Linked DNA regions of Homo sapiens: all the other regions are linked to region 5. Evidence: promoter capture Hi-C in 16 types of primary human blood cells and fetal thymus (Javierre and others, 2016). All regions are on one chromosome and are shown on one strand. Each heading gives the region's core, a stretch centred on a gene start or on the middle of the fragment in contact. The rest is flanking DNA. Distances are from core to core; before and after follow the strand shown. Region 1 overlaps LOC105375448 (a long non-coding RNA gene). Region 2 overlaps LOC105375448 (a long non-coding RNA gene). Region 3 overlaps LOC105375448 (a long non-coding RNA gene). Region 4 has its middle 7.7 kb from the start of DNAJB9. Region 5 holds the start of LRRN3 (leucine rich repeat neuronal 3). Region 6 holds the start of PNPLA8 (patatin like domain 8, phospholipase A2).

What was found. Contacts are between HindIII fragments. The CHiCAGO score rates a contact against its expected background, and 5 or more counts as called.
Region 1: a contact is called between a fragment that was not itself captured here and the fragment with the promoter of LRRN3 in region 5, in 1 of 17 cell types (naive B cells). The highest score is 8.3, in naive B cells.
Region 2: a fragment that was not itself captured here is called in contact with the fragment with the promoter of LRRN3 in region 5 in 6 of 17 cell types (total B cells, M0 macrophages, M2 macrophages and 3 more); the score reaches 14.4 in total B cells.
Region 3: a contact is called between a fragment that was not itself captured here and the fragment with the promoter of LRRN3 in region 5, in 2 of 17 cell types (total B cells and endothelial precursors). The highest score is 6.3, in total B cells.
Region 4: a fragment that was not itself captured here is called in contact with the fragment with the promoter of LRRN3 in region 5 in 1 of 17 cell types (total B cells); the score reaches 6.0 in total B cells.
Region 6: a contact is called between a fragment that was not itself captured here and the fragment with the promoter of LRRN3 in region 5, in 2 of 17 cell types (naive CD8 T cells and activated CD4 T cells). The highest score is 6.8, in naive CD8 T cells.

What each region holds. Positions count from the first base shown.
Region 1 is chr7:108,635,333-108,638,632 of GRCh38, reverse strand. The region is part of intron 3 of LOC105375448 (a long non-coding RNA gene); the gene reads right to left. Among named protein-coding and RNA genes, the nearest start is that of DNAJB9, 67 kb to the right of the region's middle. The HindIII fragment of the contact is 330 bases long and covers 1,842-2,171 here.
Region 2 is chr7:108,617,283-108,620,347 of GRCh38, reverse strand. The region is part of intron 3 of LOC105375448 (a long non-coding RNA gene); the gene reads right to left. Among named protein-coding and RNA genes, the nearest start is that of DNAJB9, 49 kb to the right of the region's middle. The HindIII fragment of the contact is 335 bases long and covers 1,169-1,503 here.
Region 3 is chr7:108,599,204-108,602,460 of GRCh38, reverse strand. It overlaps LOC105375448 (a long non-coding RNA gene), which reads right to left. Exons shown (of 4, transcript NR_187939.1): 2 at 883-1,028. Among named protein-coding and RNA genes, the nearest start is that of DNAJB9, 31 kb to the right of the region's middle. The HindIII fragment of the contact is 816 bases long and covers 1,450-2,265 here.
Region 4 is chr7:108,575,989-108,579,125 of GRCh38, reverse strand. No RefSeq gene overlaps it. Among named protein-coding and RNA genes, the nearest start is that of DNAJB9, 7.7 kb to the right of the region's middle. RefSeq lists an enhancer at 1-130. The HindIII fragment of the contact is 1,803 bases long and covers 562-2,364 here.
Region 5 is chr7:111,089,374-111,092,840 of GRCh38, reverse strand. LRRN3 (leucine rich repeat neuronal 3) reads right to left here and starts at 1,714. Exons shown (of 3, transcript NM_001099658.2): 1 at 1,337-1,714. The region is part of intron 3 of IMMP2L (inner mitochondrial membrane peptidase subunit 2); the gene reads left to right. The HindIII fragment of the contact is 3,940 bases long and covers 1-2,136 here.
Region 6 is chr7:108,523,757-108,527,234 of GRCh38, reverse strand. It overlaps PNPLA8 (patatin like domain 8, phospholipase A2), which reads left to right and starts at 1,100. Exons shown (of 11, transcript NM_001256007.3): 1 at 1,100-1,206. LOC124901722 (a long non-coding RNA gene) reads right to left here and starts at 760. Exons shown (of 2, transcript XR_007060473.1): 1 at 1-760. RefSeq lists enhancers at 482-821, 1,112-1,231, 1,003-1,963, 2,643-3,178. The HindIII fragment of the contact is 2,782 bases long and covers 238-3,019 here.

The DNA.
Region 1 (3,300 bases), core at 757-3,256, 2.5 Mb after region 5:
ATACAATTGATATAAATTTCATTAATTTGAATCTAAACATCAATCATTGTGTAGACCAAAAGACCATGAATTTTCTGCAATTAATAATAAATGTCATAAGAAAGTGATTATTGCAGCAAATACCAAATGAGGACACAAAACAACAATGGAACACAAAAAAGAGGGTCAGGCAGAATTTGGATAAGGAAAGGAAAACTTGACAGAGATAACACTTATAACCAAATCTAGCTAAGTTGTTTGTTAATTCATTAATGCATAACAATGGAAATTAATATCAGCTTACATCAAGCCATTATACTAAACAGCACAATGAAATTAAATGTTATATTAACTGTAGGATGTCATTGAGGACGTCAATCACTACATCAAAAATGGTCCTATTGTCGCAGAATCAGAAATAGTTGTACTTTTCCTAAACAGTCTGTTTGTGGGTGCCTTAAGGGCCCTGTGAATATAATGGTTGTGTTTTCTTCTTCATGATGGCTGCTAGAGAAAACTTGTTGTCTACCTCTTGCAAGGATCTATGATATCATAATTAGCATCTGTATATTCTGGAATTCCTCTACTTCTATTATACATATTCCCTTTGTCCAAATTCCCCAATTATTTTTAATTTATTCCAACATGATGTAATGTATGTATTTTTGCAAACCATCTTTTAATAATAATATGAGGTAAAAACAAATTTTTGAATGTCATAAGCAAGAAATTCTCAGGATGCGATACAAAAAATGAAATAGATGCTATGTGGATGGCTAGGTCTTGTTAACATAGCTTTCAGATTTGTAAGCGTTTGTTTTTGTTTTTTTTTTCTTTCTGTTGCTGGTCTTGTGTCTCATCTCACCTATACCACAATTCAGGGCACATAGCACAGTATTACATGGTATGGCTCTTGTATTTGTTAAGGAAAAGAGAAAGCAGGAGAAGCAAGAAGGAAAGGAAAGTCCTGGGTCCCACCGTTTCTGCCCTTACATCAGAAGGATGCATACTTAGGCCATGGCCCTGCTGGGCCCACAGCTGGGATTTGCATTCCCATGGGCCTTGCAACATGTTATTCTGTCTTCTTTATTGAGCCAACTGAGAAAATAGCCTTGTCACTGGGAAGTACACAGGCGGCTTGCCCCAGGTACTCTGTTTTGGGGAGCCAGCCCTTACAGTGTTTGTCTGGAAACACCAACTGCCCAGCTTCTGGAGACTTTGGAGCACATGAGATGTTGCCATCCACCTGCTGGAGAGAAGTACCTGGTCCCATGGAAAGTTATGTTTGGTACAGCCTCACTCCCACCCCACACTGGGAAAAGGGTTCTTCCAGGACGTGGCTGGTTTGTTTTCCAGGCCATCCTGAATGAGAAACCAACCCTGACAGCACCTTGAAGGGCCACTTGCAGCCACTTCTGCTTGTTGACCCCGTCATCTGTGGGTAAATGTTTAACCACAGGTCTCCAGTGGAGAGAACAGGAAAGCTCAGGTTTGTAGTGTTTGCCAGTTTCCATCCTGTTTCAAGCTACTAAGGTAACATCACTGCACACCCATTTGGAAGGAGCTATGCAGCCTCCCACCATTAGGTTTATTCCCTTTGGGCAGACATAGCAAATGTAAACAACTCCAAGATTACTAATAATCATGAAATGGAGTGCAGTAATTAGAAAATGATATGTTCTGAGTAATAACCTGTGTTTTAAATTTAATTTTTTAATTGTAAGTTTATATCATTTAGCTTTTAATAATAGTTGTGCTTAATATTAGGCTCATAAAATTCATAAAAATGTAACAATTGGCTCTCACAAGCCAGTGCAAACTGATTCCAACAGAACACATTTTGGTTTGCTGTTGTTTAAGCTTTGTTGAGATGCAATTGATATACAAAAATTGCACATATTTATTGTATACAATTTAATTAGTTTGGACATACACATATACCTGTGATGTCATCACACAATCAAGGTACTAAACATATATGTCACCTCCAAAATGATATTGTGTTCTTTTGTGTGCAGGTGTGTGTGTGTGTGTGTGTGTGTGTGTTGGTAAAATTTAACATAAGATCCATTGTCTTAGCATATTTTGAAGTGCACAATATTGTTCATTGTAGGTATCATGTTGTACAGCAGATCTCTACAACTTAATCATCCTGTATAACTGAAATTCACCACACCTTGTTTCATAAAGCTTCCCTAAAAGTTCATGGATCGCTTGGTGCCTCTTGGCAATTTTTTAAATCTTTTTTTTTTTTTTATTTCTTACAAGGATTCAGGACAGAAGGAAGACATCAATACCAGATTGCAAGGAATGGCATGCATTACCTTTATTGTTGATGACATTTAACACAGAAAACCTGGGAGAGTTCCACAAATTTTCATGCAAAGCAACTGAAATATAAATATAAGATGATCTTATGTCACTATTTTCTGAAAAGCCTGGAAAGAAACAGCTACGGAAGTTGAAGAAAAATGACAATCATATTTTTTATTCCCTAAAATACAGATTTAAATATGTGTTAATTACTTCTGCAGTTAATAATAAGAACGATTATTTCTGGACCTCGTAGTCTAGCAAGAAGTCTTCACTAATTCACAATAAGAAGTCATCAAATGAGTGCTTTTGTTGAAGCGAGCAACTAATATTTTAATAGTATTTTGTAGCCTACATATACTCTCCTATTTACCCTTCCCTAAAAACCTGAGAAGGTGGTCTTATTTTCATCTGCATTGTGTCCATTAAGAAATAGAGGCATCTGGGCAGGGCACGGTGGCTTACGCCTGTAATCCCAGCACTTTGGGAGACTGAGGAGGGTGGATCACGAGGTCAAGAGATCGAGACCATCCTGGCCAAGTGGTGAAACCCCATCTCTACTAAAAATACAAAAACTAGCCAGGTGTGGTAGCATGCACCCGTAGTCCCAGTAACTTGGGAGGCTGAGGCAGGAGAATCGCTTGAACCCAGGAGGTGGAGGTTGCAGTGAGCCAAGATTGTGCCACTGCACTCCAGCCTGGCAACAGAATAAGACTTGGTCTCAAAAAAAAAGAAATAGAGGCATCTTCAGTGATTTGCCCAAGACCACACAATACAGTAAGTAGAAAAGATAAATCTCTTCTCCTTCCTGTCTTTCTTCTTTCCTTTGTTCCTTTACAAAGATTTAGGGGGTAGTGTATTAGTCTGTTAGTGCTGCCATAACAAAATACCACGGACTGGGTGGCTTAAACAACAGAAATTTATTTTCTCACAGTTGTGAAGGCTAGGAGAAGTCCAAGATCAAGATGCTTTGGGGTTGGTTTCTGTTGAGGCTTCTCTTCCTGGCTT
Region 2 (3,065 bases), core at 87-2,586, 2.5 Mb after region 5:
AAAAATGTAATTCTAAAGTGATAAGGAGACGCAGATGAAAAACTAACTCTGAGGCAATTCCAAATGAGGAGTTTCAAAAACATTTTGAGAAATGGTAGAGTATTTCAAATTAGTTCATAGCTTCTCAAGGTGACTCCTTGAAATAGCAACCCTGACCTGAATGGTTGCATCTATGTTTATTTTTTTAATCACATTTATTTTCATTTCTCTTATATAATTAAAATTAATCCTGATTTCAAACATCAATTTAGATATTCTAATCACTGTTTATGCTTGAAAGCACCCTGATATGTCATAAACCAAAGTTGAAAATTTTTTCTTGTTGTGCAAACTTTAGGGTTGGTGTAAGAAGGAATAAAGTTGTGTGTGTTACACATATGGTACTCCTGCAGATGGCCACGTGGAGGGCAGATTTCCATAGCCAGAATGCAGAATAGATTGTGTTTCCCATCCTAACATTTACAATAAAACACCCACATAAGTTGGTTTAAAATATTTTGGTTTCAGCATGATTAAATAATATGTTTGCAATTAATATCTATTCACTTTGCTGTGAACTCTTGGCCCCAGTGTGCATTACCAGAAACAGTAAGACACGCTCCCCAGTTCTCTGATTTCTCAAAGCAAGAGGTTTTTCTACTAGTACTGACTGCCGTAACTGTCTCAAAGAAAAAAAATATGTCCCTGGCCACAAAGTTAAATTATAGGAGAATTTTTTTTAAGTTAGGTTTGCTGATTTAAAAGGCCCTTGGTGAGCTTTCAGACCTCAATTAAGGCTGTGATTTGAGAAAAAGAAAATGAATTTTCCAAGCAATTAGGTGGTAATAGATCTAACGGCTTTGTGGGGAAAGAAATGGGTATATTTAACTTTGACAAGTAGCTGCCATGCATGTGTTATATAACCTCTTTTGATAAGTTTTTTTGCTCCATAGACCAAATACCTTTTTTAATTATCTGAAAACGTCTTTCACAGGGAATTATAAAGAGTAACAACCACAAAGCAGACAGGCATCCTGCCCTACTGAGTCAATAGCATTCACTTTTCTAAAAACATCTCATGTTAATTTCATAATACTCATTTTAAAAGGTCTAAAAATATGTGCTTACTGATAAACCATATGGTCTCAGAAGGATATTTCACAAGAAAATGTGTCAGCTTTCATAAGCTTCCACAGGGGACCCTTTTCCTTTTGTAAGAAAAAAAACTGACATTGAAAACACAGTGGAATTTGAACATGAAAAGACTTTTTAGCAGCGTGAGAAGGTAATAGAACCCAACAAAATCAGTATATTCCATATTAAAGTAAGGCCCTGTCTTCAGCTCATTTGTGGGACAAAAGAACATACCATTGGTTACAGTGATGTAGCACAGGTATTCAAAATAAATGGAGGTGTAGATGCTTCACTGATTTGTTATTAAAGGATAGGCTAAGACTGATTCATCTCTAAAAACAGAGCTGCTTTTCTATGGCTAATTCCATAGGTAAAAAACCCTTTAAAGCTTTTTTGTTCATAGTGTGCTATTTCCTTGATTATTTAACTCTACTTTTTTCTTTGCCAATTCTTCAGAAAACCAAAATGTGTTCTACAAGATCTTACAAGGGAGGAAATTCTCCACCCAGCTCCTGTGTATGAGCAGGAAATAAATTCTCTGAGTTTTTGTTGCTTTCCTCTTTCAGGCCCCAGAAGGCTAACCTCTAACCTACAGGACAACAAAAATCCTTGGCTTTTGGGTGACAGTAAATATTTCAAGCTAACGACTGAATGAGAGTTCCCTAAAAGACGGCATACACAATTAAAACAAGTCACGGTCACCCTAAAACATGACTGGAAACAAAAGAACTTGAATATCCACATTGCTGGCATTAGAATCATTGTCCATGGCATGAATTCTGCAGGCATACCTTCAATTAATCAATGAGTGATGAATAGAGTAGTAGTAGCCAAGCGAGTCCCACCAATGATGAATATGGATTTCTAAAGCCAAATCATTCAGGAGGTGATCTATAGTGTTTATTCAGATGACAAAACCAACAGGTCAGTTCCACTGGTAACCTGATCTCTTACCTGGTAAGATCTGAAGGGTGTTTGCTATTGTCTGAGATTGAAGAGCAATGATACTGAAGCAGCTCTCCTAACCCCCGGGAACCTTCTGCTTCCAGGGGTGGAACTGAGGGAGAGAAGCAGAGGGTACACTCAGATTGAAGAAAGCTAGGACAGGACATTGTGCCACAGAATTAAGCAGAAGACAGCAACACCAGCTCACACAGCCACAGTAACGTAAGGTTGAGCTAAAAGCAAAAACACCCTAAAAAATAATAATAATAATAATAACAACTGGCATGTAATAAGCATGAACATTTATCAGAAATTGTGCTTATCTCAGTGAATATTGACAAGAACCTTCTGAGATGGGTTCTATCCCTCCTTTAGGGAGAAGGAAACTGAGACTCAGAGAGCAAGCAATAGAACAGGAATTAAACCCAGGCAACCTGACTTCAGAGTCCATGCTTTTGCCAGAAACTCTAGAAAGCACCAACTAGAAGTGAGGAAATAGCCAAAATGAGAATGAAACTGAAATGAATCAGGGAAGCAGTGAGGGAGGTACAAATGGAGTCAGATGGGCAAACATTCAAGGGGCAGAGCCCAAAGCCAGGATGAGCAGGTGGCTGTGTGATGCGACTTTTAGAGCCTGTGCTCGGCCTCATCCAGAACCTATGATCTGTTTATCTTTAAGCATTTACAGTTATAAGCTACCATCAGACAGGTACAACTAGACATAGCCATCTTAGTAAGTATAGATAATTCAAATGCAAATTCTGCAAGTCAAATAAAATTCTTTCATTTCTCCTCACTTTTTTTTTATCTTTTTCTCTCCACGCTTTTAGAAAAAAAATTATTTTGTAATCTATTTGAAAATCTCACCTGAAAAGAGCGTATCATGTATTTTATTTGAGGAGCTCAAAACATTTCATGAACACTCTCCCCACAGCCATTATAAAATTAAATAAGTAATAGTGCTTATTATTCAGTGCCTCGAAGCTATGGTTTAAGTACTAGAAAAG
Region 3 (3,257 bases), core at 608-3,107, 2.5 Mb after region 5:
TAGAATTATGCTTTCAAGTCATTTTAATGAACTAGGGAAATGCTTACTATATAATGTTAAGTAAAAGAATCATGATAGAAAACTGTACCTGCAGTTTGATTTTATTTATAAGATATCTACGCACATACACTCATACTGGAAGGAAACACATCAAATTGTCAGTAACATATCTCCCAATGGGGAAGTTATGGATGATTTTAATTTTCTTCTTAAAGAAAAATTATTTTTCTAATCTTTCCATGATGAATGCATTGTACTATGAAAATCAGAAAATACAAAAAAATTTTAAATTCCGGGCCAGGCACTGTGGCTCACGCCTGTAATCCCAACACTTTGGGAGGCCAAGTCAGGCAGATCACTGGAGGTCAGGAGTTTGAGATCAGCCTGGCCAACATGGTGAAACGCTGTCTGTACTAAAACTACAAAAATTAGCTGGGTGTGGTTATTGTGCCTGTAATCCCAGCTACTCGGGAGGCTGAGGCAGGGGAATCACCTAAACCCAGGAGGTGGAGGTTGCAGTGAACCGAGTTTGTGCCACTGCACTCCAGCCTGGGCAACCGAGTAAGACGCCATCTCAAAAAAAAAAAAAAAAATTAAATGCCTGGCCAACTGTGAAGAGATGATTCAACCCATCAGCAGAACAAACATTCACTTGGATGATAGAAATTTGAAATTTTATAAAAGTCCATCTTACCCAAAAATCACTTCCACCAGTATCCTGCAGGTACCCAAAATTCCCAGAATTAGAGATTTACCCCACAACAGATTTTGAGCAGACCGTATATATTGTATAATCCCATTTTTGTTGTTTTTTAAAGGAGTATATATTTTCATGTCTGTTTATTATTTATTCATCTTACTATACATATGTTTGAAACTGACCCAAATCAATTTGTGCACAATCCTCAGATTGTTCTTGATAGACAGCTGTTGCTTCTAACAATTAGAAGTGGGGAATAGTTATGATATCTTCTCCTACAGCTCCTCACGAGGCAGTGCAATGAAAGCAGGTCTCAGATGGACTTTTGCTGAGGGAACAAAAATTTTATTAGCAGGCAGGCACAAACATAGTCACCATCTCCCCTTGTAAGACCAAGTGCCAGTTCTCTGTTCCTTTAGACACTCCAACTGACCTTGTATTAAAGGTTTATCAGAGGCAGATGTGACAATAGTCTACCTACAGTACTCAGTAAACCTAGTTGGAAGTAAATGATAAAATTCTCCCTTTTAAATGCACAGAGGACAGAATGGACTCTTAGACCTAACATGCCATGCAAAGTGTATAGAATTGGACTTAACTAGACTCTTGTTCCCTATTCACCAAGGACAGGAGTACCTATATAATATTTCTAGCCAATTCACACATCTTAATCTCTAGTAATTTTACTAAGGAAAAAATATCTCTAATATCCATTATACTAAATAAATTTTAAAAATAACTGGAAAGCTTGCAGTGTGTTCTAGGTTCTTCTAGAGTGTGGCCTTCTAATTAGTTTTTTATTGGTAACTAATCATCTCTGGAGTATTTGCCTTGACTAGGGCATGTCAAAGGTTAACTAATCAGCCCTAAGGTATTGATTAAAGCTGAAATACAGATACTTAAGTATTTTAGAATAAATTATAGACCATATAATGATATGCATTTTTCAAAGTCTGAGAGAATAACTAGCTAATTATTATTAGTGATTATCTCTGAAAGAATGGGATTAAGAAGACAGAACATTTTTCTTGGCACTCTTTGGTGTTATTTGAAGAAAAAAAGCAAATATTACCTTTGTGATATAAACATACTAATAAAAGTTGTTAAAGGCTAAGATCAATAATAAATGGAGATTTATTTGTTTGAATTAAAGGTTTACCTCTGCCCACCTTCAGAAGTACACAGCAGTGTTCCAGGTGTGTTGAAAAAGCACAGGATGAATAAGGCATGTCTTTCTACAACGTGAATTTTGCTAGAAATTTTAGAAGGGTGAGGCCAAGTAATTTAAAGGGTAGGCAATTTAAAACAGATTTTAAGAACTTTCCCTCAAGACTTCCTTCTCCCAAGGCTTCTTTCCCCCAGACTTACTCTCTTACCTCCTGATATGGCTGTGTCAGATGTTGGCTGTGTCCCCACCCAAAATCTCATCTTGAATTATAATACCCATAATCCTCACATGTCAAGGACAGGACCAGGTGGAGGTAATTGGATCATGGCGGCAGTTTCCCCTTTGCTGTTCTTGTGATATTAAGTGAGTCTCACGAGACCTGATGGTTTTATAAGCTTCTGGCATTTCCCCTGCTTGCACCCATTCTCTCTCCTGCCACCCTGTGAAGAGGTGCCTTCCGCCGTTATTGTAAGTTTCCTAAGACCTCCCAAGCCATGCAGAACTGTGAGTCAATTAAATCTCTTTTCTTTATAAATCACCCAGTCTCGGGTATTTCTTTATAAGCAGCATGAGAACTGACTAATACACCTTCCATCCTACCTCTCTGAGCCCCGTTAGAGATACTCATTCACTTTTTTCTATCATTAGAGGATTGCAGTGGGAATGTTTGAAGAACAATGCTCGATTTTATTATTTTCTATTAATACTTGTGAATTAGCAGACTCTCAGAAATCATTATCAATCATTTACCTACAAAGGCCAGAGAATAACTGAAAAAGATGAGTAACTGGTGGCAGTTGGTGGTTGGGGGAGTTGAGAAGGAAATGCATGAAGGAGAGGAAGAATGAATAGCCTGAAATTCAGGTAAACTGAGGAGGGGTACCCTGAACCCTGGGAACAGCCAAGCCATTAGCCCTCTGGGGACTGGAGCTCTGAAAAGGTGCGTGGAAGGAATGAAGCAGAGAAGGAGGAAGTGGAGCCAAGAGGTCAGGGAGCATTAACACCAATTAATTTTCCTTCCCAATCTTATCCCTTCCCAGCAAAAATATAGACATATGTTTAGCGGCAGTTGGGGCCATGTCAGTTATAAGATTTGCTGCCAATGATACACATCTGTCAGCTTATTTGCATCAAGCAAAAGAGCTGAAGCTACAATTTGTGTTTATGATAAATGAAGATTTGGAAGACATTTGCTTTCCCCCGTCTTTTGCTTACTTAAGCATCATGCAGATACAAAAGACACTGCCAGAATTTGCTTAGACAACACTGAACATGGGGGTAGGAGTGAGAAGGAAGGGAGAAAATCACTATGAAATATTGCCACTTTCACTGCAATTCTGGACCCATCATTTTAAATTGTGAAATGCCTGCTGCTGAATGCGAGAAGCA
Region 4 (3,137 bases), core at 214-2,713, 2.5 Mb after region 5:
CAGCATCTGCTTCTGGTGAGGGCCTCAGACTGCTTCCACTCATGGCAGAAGGCAAAGGGGAACCAGCGTATACAGAGATCACATGACGAGAGAGGAACCAAGGGAGAGAAACAGGGGAGGTGTCAGGCTCTTTTTAACAACTATCTCTTGTGGGAACTAATAAAGAACTCACTCCTGAGAAAGGGCATTAAACTATTTGTGAGGGATCTACCCCTATGACCCTAACATTTCTCATTAGGCCCCACTTCCAACACTGGGGATCAAATTTCAGCATGAGGTTTAGAGTGGACAAACATCCAAACCCTAGTAGACTATAAGATGATTTCCCATTTATCTTAATAGTCACAGTTTGATTTTTCTGTCTGCAAATACTGTCTTATTGTAAAACTATAACAACAAAAATTATTAGCTTTTATTTTCTTGGGAGAATAATAAAGGAGTTTTCATTTACATAATAGTCCTCTTATAATTTGCTTGATGATGGCTATTGTAGGTATAAAATACTCCTGAGGAAACAATATTATTCAAGTAGCTACAACAGTGATCAAAAGAAGAAAAGCTTGTTGATGAAATGTAGGCTAAAGCCCATCATAATGGGCTCTGATAGGATAATCTTTTTCAATCATAGTAAATTCAAATACTTTTTTTTTAATAATGCAACACAAGTACCAACATAATATATGCTATCATCCTTGCTTTGGTATGTGTTCATGCACATGTTCCAAAGGTTTATTATATGATTTTTTTTCACTTTTATTTAGGCCAGTATTTACCAAACTTTTACTGTGGCACACTTGGATATGGTTAAGGGTACTTAGTAAAAATGTTTCCATGGTCCAATAAATTGGGCAAACAATATTTGGTATCGCTACCAAAGATTCACAACATAGATTAGTATGTTGAGAATTCTGAGCAGCTCACTGTCTCAGTCTGTTCAGACTTGCATAACAAGATGCCATAGACTGCGTGGCTTATAAAAAACAGAACTTTATTTCTCACAGTTCTAGGGGCTAAGAAGTCTAAGATGAAGGCACTAGCAGATTGACTGTCTGGTGACAGCCCTCTTCCTCATAGATCTTCTCTAACCTCACATGTAGAAAAAAATGAGTGATCTCCCTTGGGCCCTTTTTACAAGGGCACTAATCCCATTCATGAGAATTCTGCCTCCTGACCTAATTACCCAAAGGCCCTATCTACTAATACTATAGGAATATGGGGAGGACATAACCATTCAAACCCTAGCACTCACCTAAAAAGAAACATATTTAGCAAGGTTTGAATCCCAACCCAGATTTCACAAATCTATTTAAACATGATTTTTTTTTTCATAGCATACTTCTTACTCCTGCAGAACATCATTCTGAAGAATAAGCTATTGCTACATGGATTGAATCATAGCTGATACTCTACTAAAAAGTCCACGATAAAAATTATGTCCACAAATGTTTTGTCAAATGATTTAAGAGCACTTAATCTTGCTGCCATTCTGTTTTAAACCTGCTTCAATCAGGCTCACCCCTAAAACTTGATAGAAATTGGCATCCAGGTCATTTTTGATATCAGTATTGCTAAAAACAACAATGGTTAGTTCTCAATCATCGTCTTACTGGATTTAGTGGCAGTATTTTACAAAGTTGATCACTTTCTACTTCTTTCTTTTCTTTTTTTTTTTCTTGAGATAGAGTCTCACTTTGTCATCCAGGCTGGAGTGCAGTGGCATGATCTCAACTCATCGCAACCTCCACCTCCTGGATTCAGGTGATTCTCCTGCCTCAGCCTCTCAAGTAGCTGGGATTACAGGCACCTGCCACCACACCTGGCTAATTTTTGTATTTTTAGTAGAGGCAGGGTTTCATCATGTTGGCCAAGCTGGTCTCGAACTCCTGACCTCAAGCAATCCACCTGCCTCGGCCTCCCAAAGTCCTAGGTTTACAGGCGTGAGTCACCATGCCCAGCCGCTTTCTACTTCTTGATATATTTATTTCACTTCCTTCCAAGACACAAAACTCATTACTCACTGGCTGCTGCTTATCAGATGCCTGTGTAGGCTCCTCATCTTCTTTTTGCATTTTTAGAGTACCAGGGGACTCAGTTATTCAATTGCTCTTTATGTCTCTACACATTCCCTCAGTAATTTCATCTACTCTCAAAGTTTTAAGTATCACATGTTTTGACAATCCCAAAATGCATATTTCCAGCTTCACTCTCTCTCCCAAACTTCAGACATATCTCCACCCATTTACTCATCATCTCAAATTTGATATATCTCAGCTGAACTTCTGATTTTTCCTCCTAAATTTCTTTCTGCAGCCTCTCCCATCTTAAAGGCAACTCTGTATTTCCAGTTACTCAGAACATGAAGCTTAGAATCATAGTTTTCTCCTCTGTCTTTCACACCTACATCTAATCCATAAGCAAATCCTGGTAGCTGTACTTGCAGAATACATCTGGAATCCAACCACTTCCTACCACTTCCACTGCTGCCACCCTCGTGCGATGCACAAGCTGCAACAATTTCTCATCCTAGAATACTGAAATAGCCTCCAAACTCTCTCCTTGTTCCACCATTGCCCCTCTGTCTATTCTGAACAAAGCACGTGGAGTGACCCTTTTAAAATGATTTAAAGATCAAGTCATTTATCTGCTCCAAGCTCAGCCACCATATCACATTCCAAAATCAAATCCTTTACAAAGGTTGGCAAGGCCCTAGGTGATCTGTAGGGCTGCTTTCAACCCCTCTTATCTATGAATTCATCTCCTTCTACTCTGGTTTGCTCACTGGCCTCCAGTTATGCGCACTTCTTTGCCATTCCTACAACTTCCCACATATGCTTCCACCTTCAGTACAAACAATTCCCTTCAAGCATCTGCTCAAATTTACCTTCTCAATGAGGCCAACACTGACAATCCTGTCAAAAATTGCAACACATCCTCAACCTGCCTGCCCTCACAATTCTCCTCTCCTGTGCTACATTTTTTTTCCATACTTTATCAGTTTATAATTTATTCATATGGTTATTGCTTGTCTTTTTCCATAAGAATGTAATCACCCCCACCATCCTGCTCACCAGTTACGGTGTATCATAATGAGTAACAGTAAAAAGAACTGCACAATAAATTTAGGTAGCTCCACATTA
Region 5 (3,467 bases), core at 465-2,964:
CAAATGCTAGGTTTCTTTTACTGTCTTTCCAGGACCCAGTAAAGAGGGCAGTGAATGTTTCCATGAATATCCTCAATTGGTGTTGTCTGTTTGAAAGCATATTCTAAGTAGCTGGCTTCCCTTTACAAGATTGGAAGTAAAAATTAACCCACACTGAATTCCATGAATCATCAATACATGGATGCTCATAGAGTTTACTGAGAGTAATTCTGTCTCAAAGGCATTGCTTCTGAAACTAAAGATGAGAAATATATCAGTAATATTTATGGTACCAGAGCACACTATTTTCTAGGTAGATATTTTGAACCTTTACTTCTATTTTTGTTTTCACATTATCCCCTTTTCACTAAATTAGGACGGTTCTACTCATATTCATAGCCTGCTTTCACTGAAATTAGAGGCAGAGAAACAAGGACATATTGTTAAAAATGAATAAATTAGAGCCGAATTAAGCCATCCAGCTCAACAACAGCAAAGGGAATATAGCAGTTGGTTAGAACAAACAATTTTCTTAAATAGGAAATGTACTTTAAAGCCATCCTGCTGTGATCCTGTTAATTACCAAAGATTAGAACTCTTCTGGTTCATGGGATCCTTTCACCTAGTGTGTGGCAGTTCCAGCTGCATTAGCAATCAGACATTTGCACTGTCCCTTCAGACCAGCGAGGGGATGTTATTAAAGGGAAGTCATTTACCCCAGTCCGTAAGATGTAGCCTGGCAGAAATTCAATAACTGTTTGTGATATGCTCATTCTGCTACTCTGCTTAGTGGTTTAGCTCTTAACATACAACAGCATTTGCCTTAATTTGCATCCACTGGATGAGACAAAATAAAAATGCCCCATTTGGTGGGTTGATTTCAAAACAGAGAATAATGTGTGATCTGCTTTTCACTACAAATAATGTGAAGAAAAAGGAAAATTGCACCCCATCACCCGTGACTCTCCTCTCCTCTCTGTCTCCTCTCTGTCTTCTCTCTTCCCCATCTCCTTCTCTCTCCCTCTCCTCCTCTCTTCTCCCCCACTGTTCCCTTCTCTTCTGTCTCCCTCCTTTTTCTCCTCCCCCCAACACTGCTTTTTCTCTCCCACTCACATCCTCTAATGGGCATTCAAGCTAGTAAAATGCATGTTGGAGAATCTCACAAACACAGCTAGGCACACACAGAGCCAGCTGGGTTTTGCATGTGAATTTCTTCTCAAAAGTGCAATAAAAGAAAAATGCTCTTAGAATTCAGACAAGAAGAAGACATCAAAGGAGGATTTAGGTGTAAAAACATGATCATCGAAGAGACAAGAAATAGAACGTATTTTAAAATATATGTGTATTTTAAACTTACCTTGAAAAGCAGTTTCAGTGCTAGCCCACCTCCGATGTCCTTGCGTGCTGGATTCCTCAGTTCCTTGGTTGAGATAATCACATGGTTGTGTTCTTGCCCGGTATAAATAGGTGCATTTGTGTGTCTGTGTAACAAAGTGTACAAAATATATACTATAGATATGCACACATGCACGCAATCTTATCTCTCTATTTTAAAATATAAAGGAAGGCAGGAGGCTGCAGCCGGGATTCCTTCTTTTTCCTGGAACTCTTTTTCTCAGTCGGCAGGCTGAGGCTCTCAATCCAGTGAAGAGAGATCCTGTGAGCTGGCTTTATTTTTCCTTGTTTCCATGGTGGTTAGTGGTGCATCGTTCACCCGATCAGTTGTCACACTGACATGGTGCTGCCTGCTCAGCGGTCATTAATAACTGAACACCCTCCACTCCCCAGAGAGGAGCCAATCGCTTCAGACAGCCAAGATGTAGCACTCGCAGCTGCTCCAGTCTGGTTGGCTGAAACAAACTGTCTGTTCTATGACACTGCTGCTTAGGATACAAATAAATGAAACAGGCTTGCATGTTTTCCTAGGTATCATTTTCCTTCTTTTTTTTCCTTTCTGAGGGAATGTTGGGAATTTTTGACAAGTTTTCTCAATTTTAGGTTATCAGTCATTCAGAGAAATATGTTTTCAGTCTGCAAATAGAGAGGACACACTACTGATAAGGATTTCCTAAATATTAAAAACACCTGGTAGAGACTCAAACCTCCAACTCCGTCTCTGAAGTTCAGCAATGACTGCATTATTTAAGAAGAGAAGCTTGCAACTGTTTTGAGTGGCATTTGGTTCTCTATAGATCCTACTTAATTTAGCATATGTGCTTGGTGTTCAATAACACTTTTTTTTTTTTTTTTTTAGCAATGACATTTCTTGTCTGGATTGACCAGATTTTTAAAATAAAGCATATATTTGCCTCTCTGTAATTCACAACATTGGCATTTGAGGGGGTACTTTTTAAAAATATGTATTTCTAATTATACTCACTGACTTCTCTTTATATGATGTAATAAATCTAGGAGCTACATATGAATGGGTACATGTGTAGGTGTGTTTGTGTATCTGTGAGTGTGTGTGTGTATTTAGGATGTATTTTTTACCACTCTGGGGAAATATTTCGATTGTAATAAGTTAAATTATTTAAAAGACTATCTTTATTCTTAGGCCTATTAACTCTGAAAGGATATTTCCCAGGAAAATATACTATATAAGCCATACATGTAAAACATTTTTATTAATTACCAGAAATTTGGAAAACACAGAAACACATAGCAGTGCATATTTCTGAAAGAACATACATGAAAAATCAAAAAGCAGTTTTAAAAATGCATGTTTTACAACCTTAATTAGTATACTAGAGAAACATCTTGTTGAGGAGAATGGAACATGAGGATTAATATATCAACAGGTCAAAAGCAGGCTAGTCATGACTCCAACCCCAGTTTTGAGAGACTACCCTCTAGTGGAGTAAAGAGAAATGGCACTTATTAGATTTACTTAGGAAAAAAAAAACAAAACCTTCACATCTAATTGCTCCTTAAGTGCTTATTGACATGACATAGAACAATAGTTTGCAGTTATTATAATAATAATAATACCAGGAAAAATTTTAAACAGTAGGCTTGTCTTTAAATACTGAATATTTTCACTCTGTAGTTTTCTAGAAACAGTTCCCAAATGTTTTTTTCTATAAGAATTTATTCAAATGAATCAAAATAAGTTCAAGATAAAAGTAGCATCTCATTTAACCTAATACTTATTTCAGAATATTATTGTAAGGTTTTATTATTTACTGGATACTCTAGTATTTACTCAGAAAGCACTGAGTCAGTTCTGTATGTTAGGGATCATGGTTGAGTGTTGGGATGTTGTGTTAGAGTATATTTACATATAATTTAATGTACTTTTAATAATAGTAATAATCATCCTTCTTACCCCTTAATTTTAATCTAGCAAATCTTAGTTTCTTTAATATTCCAAATTATTTCAGTATCTGCAGGATTTATTTCCACATATGGAAGAATAATCTTAAAATTGTGATAATTATTTGTAAAAAGAGAATTTTTATTTATGCCATGGTATCTTAAGTGATTAA
Region 6 (3,478 bases), core at 379-2,878, 2.6 Mb after region 5:
AGGTCAAAGAATCCCCTTCCTTAAGGACTTTACAATAACCTTACAGGGGGCTAAAGCATACATACCCATGGGTAGTGGGTAAGCCTTGAGAGTACAGTATAAGTCTTGATAACATTTTGAGGTTGATAACTAGTTGAAACTGATCTGTTTTCCCGACCTCAACGTAATTGCAAGGTCACTTCAAGAGGGTAAGGGGCTATTGCAACTACCCAAATTCGCTATTGTAGTATAAAAGCTTTAATTAACAGCATGTATAGGAATGCAAAGCTATGTTCTAATGAAACTTTAAAAAGCAGACACAAATATGAATGTCATATAATTGTCATCTGTCGCAAAACTTTTTTTTTAACCTTTGAAAAATGTGAAACCCATTTTTAGCTCCTAGTACAGCAGAACCTGCGGTGGGCTGGATTTGCCCTGAGGGCTGTAGTTTGCCCCTGTGGTACGTATGAAATGCCACAATTTTAAAAAGATGTGTTACGTGTGGGACCATTTGTGGGGCGGTTTATGCTAACTTCCAATACAGTAATATATGTCAACTCGCTTTTGAGTGACATTTAGTCTGGGTGGCCATGCCCAGGAATGGATATAGAGAAAGGGGCGCGGCCGCGCCGGGCACCACCCTCCAAGAGACTGGTATCGCAGCCCCCAGCTCCAAGGAACTCAGCGCAGGCAGGGGCTTCAGGGACGCGGAGAGGGAGGCTTATCTCTGCTGAAAGGGAATAGCGGCCCGCAAACAAGCAAACCAGGACACTGCTCCGAGGTCCCGCCCAGGAAGGCAAAACGAAGTCCCACCGCTCTCACACCCGGCAACCAACCAAGGCACAGCACGCCCCACCAGCAAGCCACGCCTCGCGCATCACGCACGCACGCACGCACGCACACACGTCTGTCGCGGCTTCCCGCCTTGCGCTCCGTCATGCTCTATTGCGCATATCTCGGGGCGGGGGAGGAACGGAGATTGACAAGGAGGCAGAGGCCTGAGCGAGGCGGAAAATCCTCACCCCGGCCCGCGGGTAGACCCAAACTTCTAGCGCGTCACTTCCGCTGGGGGCGGAGCGGGGCGGGGCTGAGTGGGTGGCGACCTAGCTGCTGCGCCAGTGTTTGTGTTGGAAGCTCAGCTGATGCAGGCCGGTTGGAGTGGACGTCATTGCCGGGAACGAGCGAGTCGCCGCTGCAGCCCTAGTGACTGCGGCCTGCATCCCGGTAAGTAGCCGCGAGGGGACAGGGGCGGGACGATAGGAGGCTGGTTGATCGTTCTGGACCCTTGTCCGGCGCTCCGGGTCGTCCTTTCTTTCTTTGGAGGGCACTTCCCGAGCGAGAGGGTGGGGACACGCCAGGCTTTGGGGAGGAGCTGGCGCTGGAAGGAGCCCGCAGGTCCTGGAGCTCATTGGTACTCGGCGCCCTCCGCCCCCGTGGGCTTTGCTGCCCCAGAAGCGCAAACCGTATTTGGTTTCGCAGGTCCCGCCCTGCTCCCCCTGTCCCATCCCCACGACTCCCTCCTCAATTTTCCAGAGTCTGTCTGCCTTCCCCTGGACTGTAGTGTTCTCCAGTAGTTAACTGGTCACTCTCAGGAGGGTTTCCCTAGTCTACATCATTCTCGACTGTCAGTGTGCACCTGGTGATTCTACTGCCTGATATTTTTTGTCAGTAATCTCTTTCTGACCCCATCCACATTTGATTCTATCCTTGACCGCTGTTGCTTAAGTGGATAAGGTGTATGAATCACTGTGTTGCAGTGCTTCCTATCCCTGTGTCATTTCTATCATTGTGCTGGAAGGAACCTGCTTTCCACGCCTAATACAATGATAACTTTAAAATGGTGACTCATAGGAAAAACTCAGGAGAGTTGTGACATAAGGGACTATCATATAATCCTGCTTAAAATACTGTTTTCAATTCCAAAACAGTTGTATCCTGGTTCTGCAGTCCTAATTTCTGAGAGTTCAAAAATGACAAATGTTTCAGTGTATTAAGAAAATGCTGTTAAACAGTGAAACATTAAGAGCTTATGCCTTGTGAGGCAGTTGTATCAAGCCCATTTTAGCTATTTTGTTAAATTGCTTATGCAAATTAGTTGTCCTTTCAATATAAGAACATGTTTTTATTTCGTAATTATAATCAACTTTTTCTTAATGTTGATCTCTTTTTTTATTTCTATATCAGGACTAAATTAAAATCTTGTAAACGCCCTTTTAATGAGTGATGTTGAATGAAAGGGCCAGTTTCACTAGTTTAGCTATTCACTTGTTTCACATGCAAAGTTGTTACAAGAACAGCCTGTACTTTGAGTTGTTTTTTTTTACCCCAGTTAGAGGGGTTGTGCTGAAGCTGCATATTGCTTCACTCATGGAATATATATTTGTAAAAAGGTCAGAGTTAGAATGCTGAGCCATAGACACCTTCCTGTCCTGCCATTTTTTGTTGTTGTTGGGAGTCTCTCTCTGTCGCCCAGGCTGGAGTGCCTTGGTGCGATCTCGACTCACTGCAAGGTTCAAACGATTCTCTTGCTTCAGCCTCCCGAGTAGCTGGGATTTACAGGCGTGCGCAACCACACCCGGCTAATTTTTTTAAGTAGAGACGGGTTTCCCCATGTTGGCCAGGCTGCTCTCAAACTCCTGGCCTCAGGTGATCCGCCCGCCTCGGCCTCCCAAAGTGCTGGGATTTCAGGCCTGAGCCACCGCACCTGGCCAGTCATTTCTTAGTTCTTATCTTTCTCTGCAGTACTCAAGTATTTTATTCTGTTCATTATCCATTACTTGAAAAAATTTGGTCCTGTCTTGGTTTTCAGTGTCCTGATTTTTTCAGGGTGGCTTTTCTCCTGTTTTGTTTCCTTTAGAGTCTTTTCTTCCTCTTCCTAGCTCTGGGTGGCACTCAAGGCTCTACCCCTGTCGCTCTCCCTAAACCAGAGTTTCGTGTTTGAAACCCAAATATACTTCAGTGGGCATGTGAATATCCTGAAATATTATGGAAAATATAGTTTGTATTGCAAATACACATTTTTCAAGGAAGAAAAGCTTTACTCAGGTTGCCTGATCCCAAAATAGTCATGTATTATTACTGTAAACTATCATCTGGTAAATACGTCTAATGTTGTGGTTTCTGCTGCCACTATGCTGGTAATTCCACAAGTAAATCCACAGTCTGTGTACATTTCCATTTGAATGTCCCACTGTTACTTCATCCTGTGAATCCAAAAGAAAATGTGTTTTTCTCTCCTATTAAATTGTCCCCTTCACAGTTTTCTCATATTCGCAAATGGCACTCTCCGTATTTTTCAGATTTAAAACCTTAGAGCTCTCTTAACACTTCCCTCTCTTTACCCCATTCTTGGCTGTCAAGTCCTGTGTTTTGTTGTTTTCTCTTTTTTCCCTTACTTTCAAAGTGTTCAGAGTGGCCCTCTTCCCCACACTAGTACTTGCTGGGTGAGGTGTCAGAGCCCCAGCATCAGAAAGTGGTCAGCTTGGGGTAGTAGGGT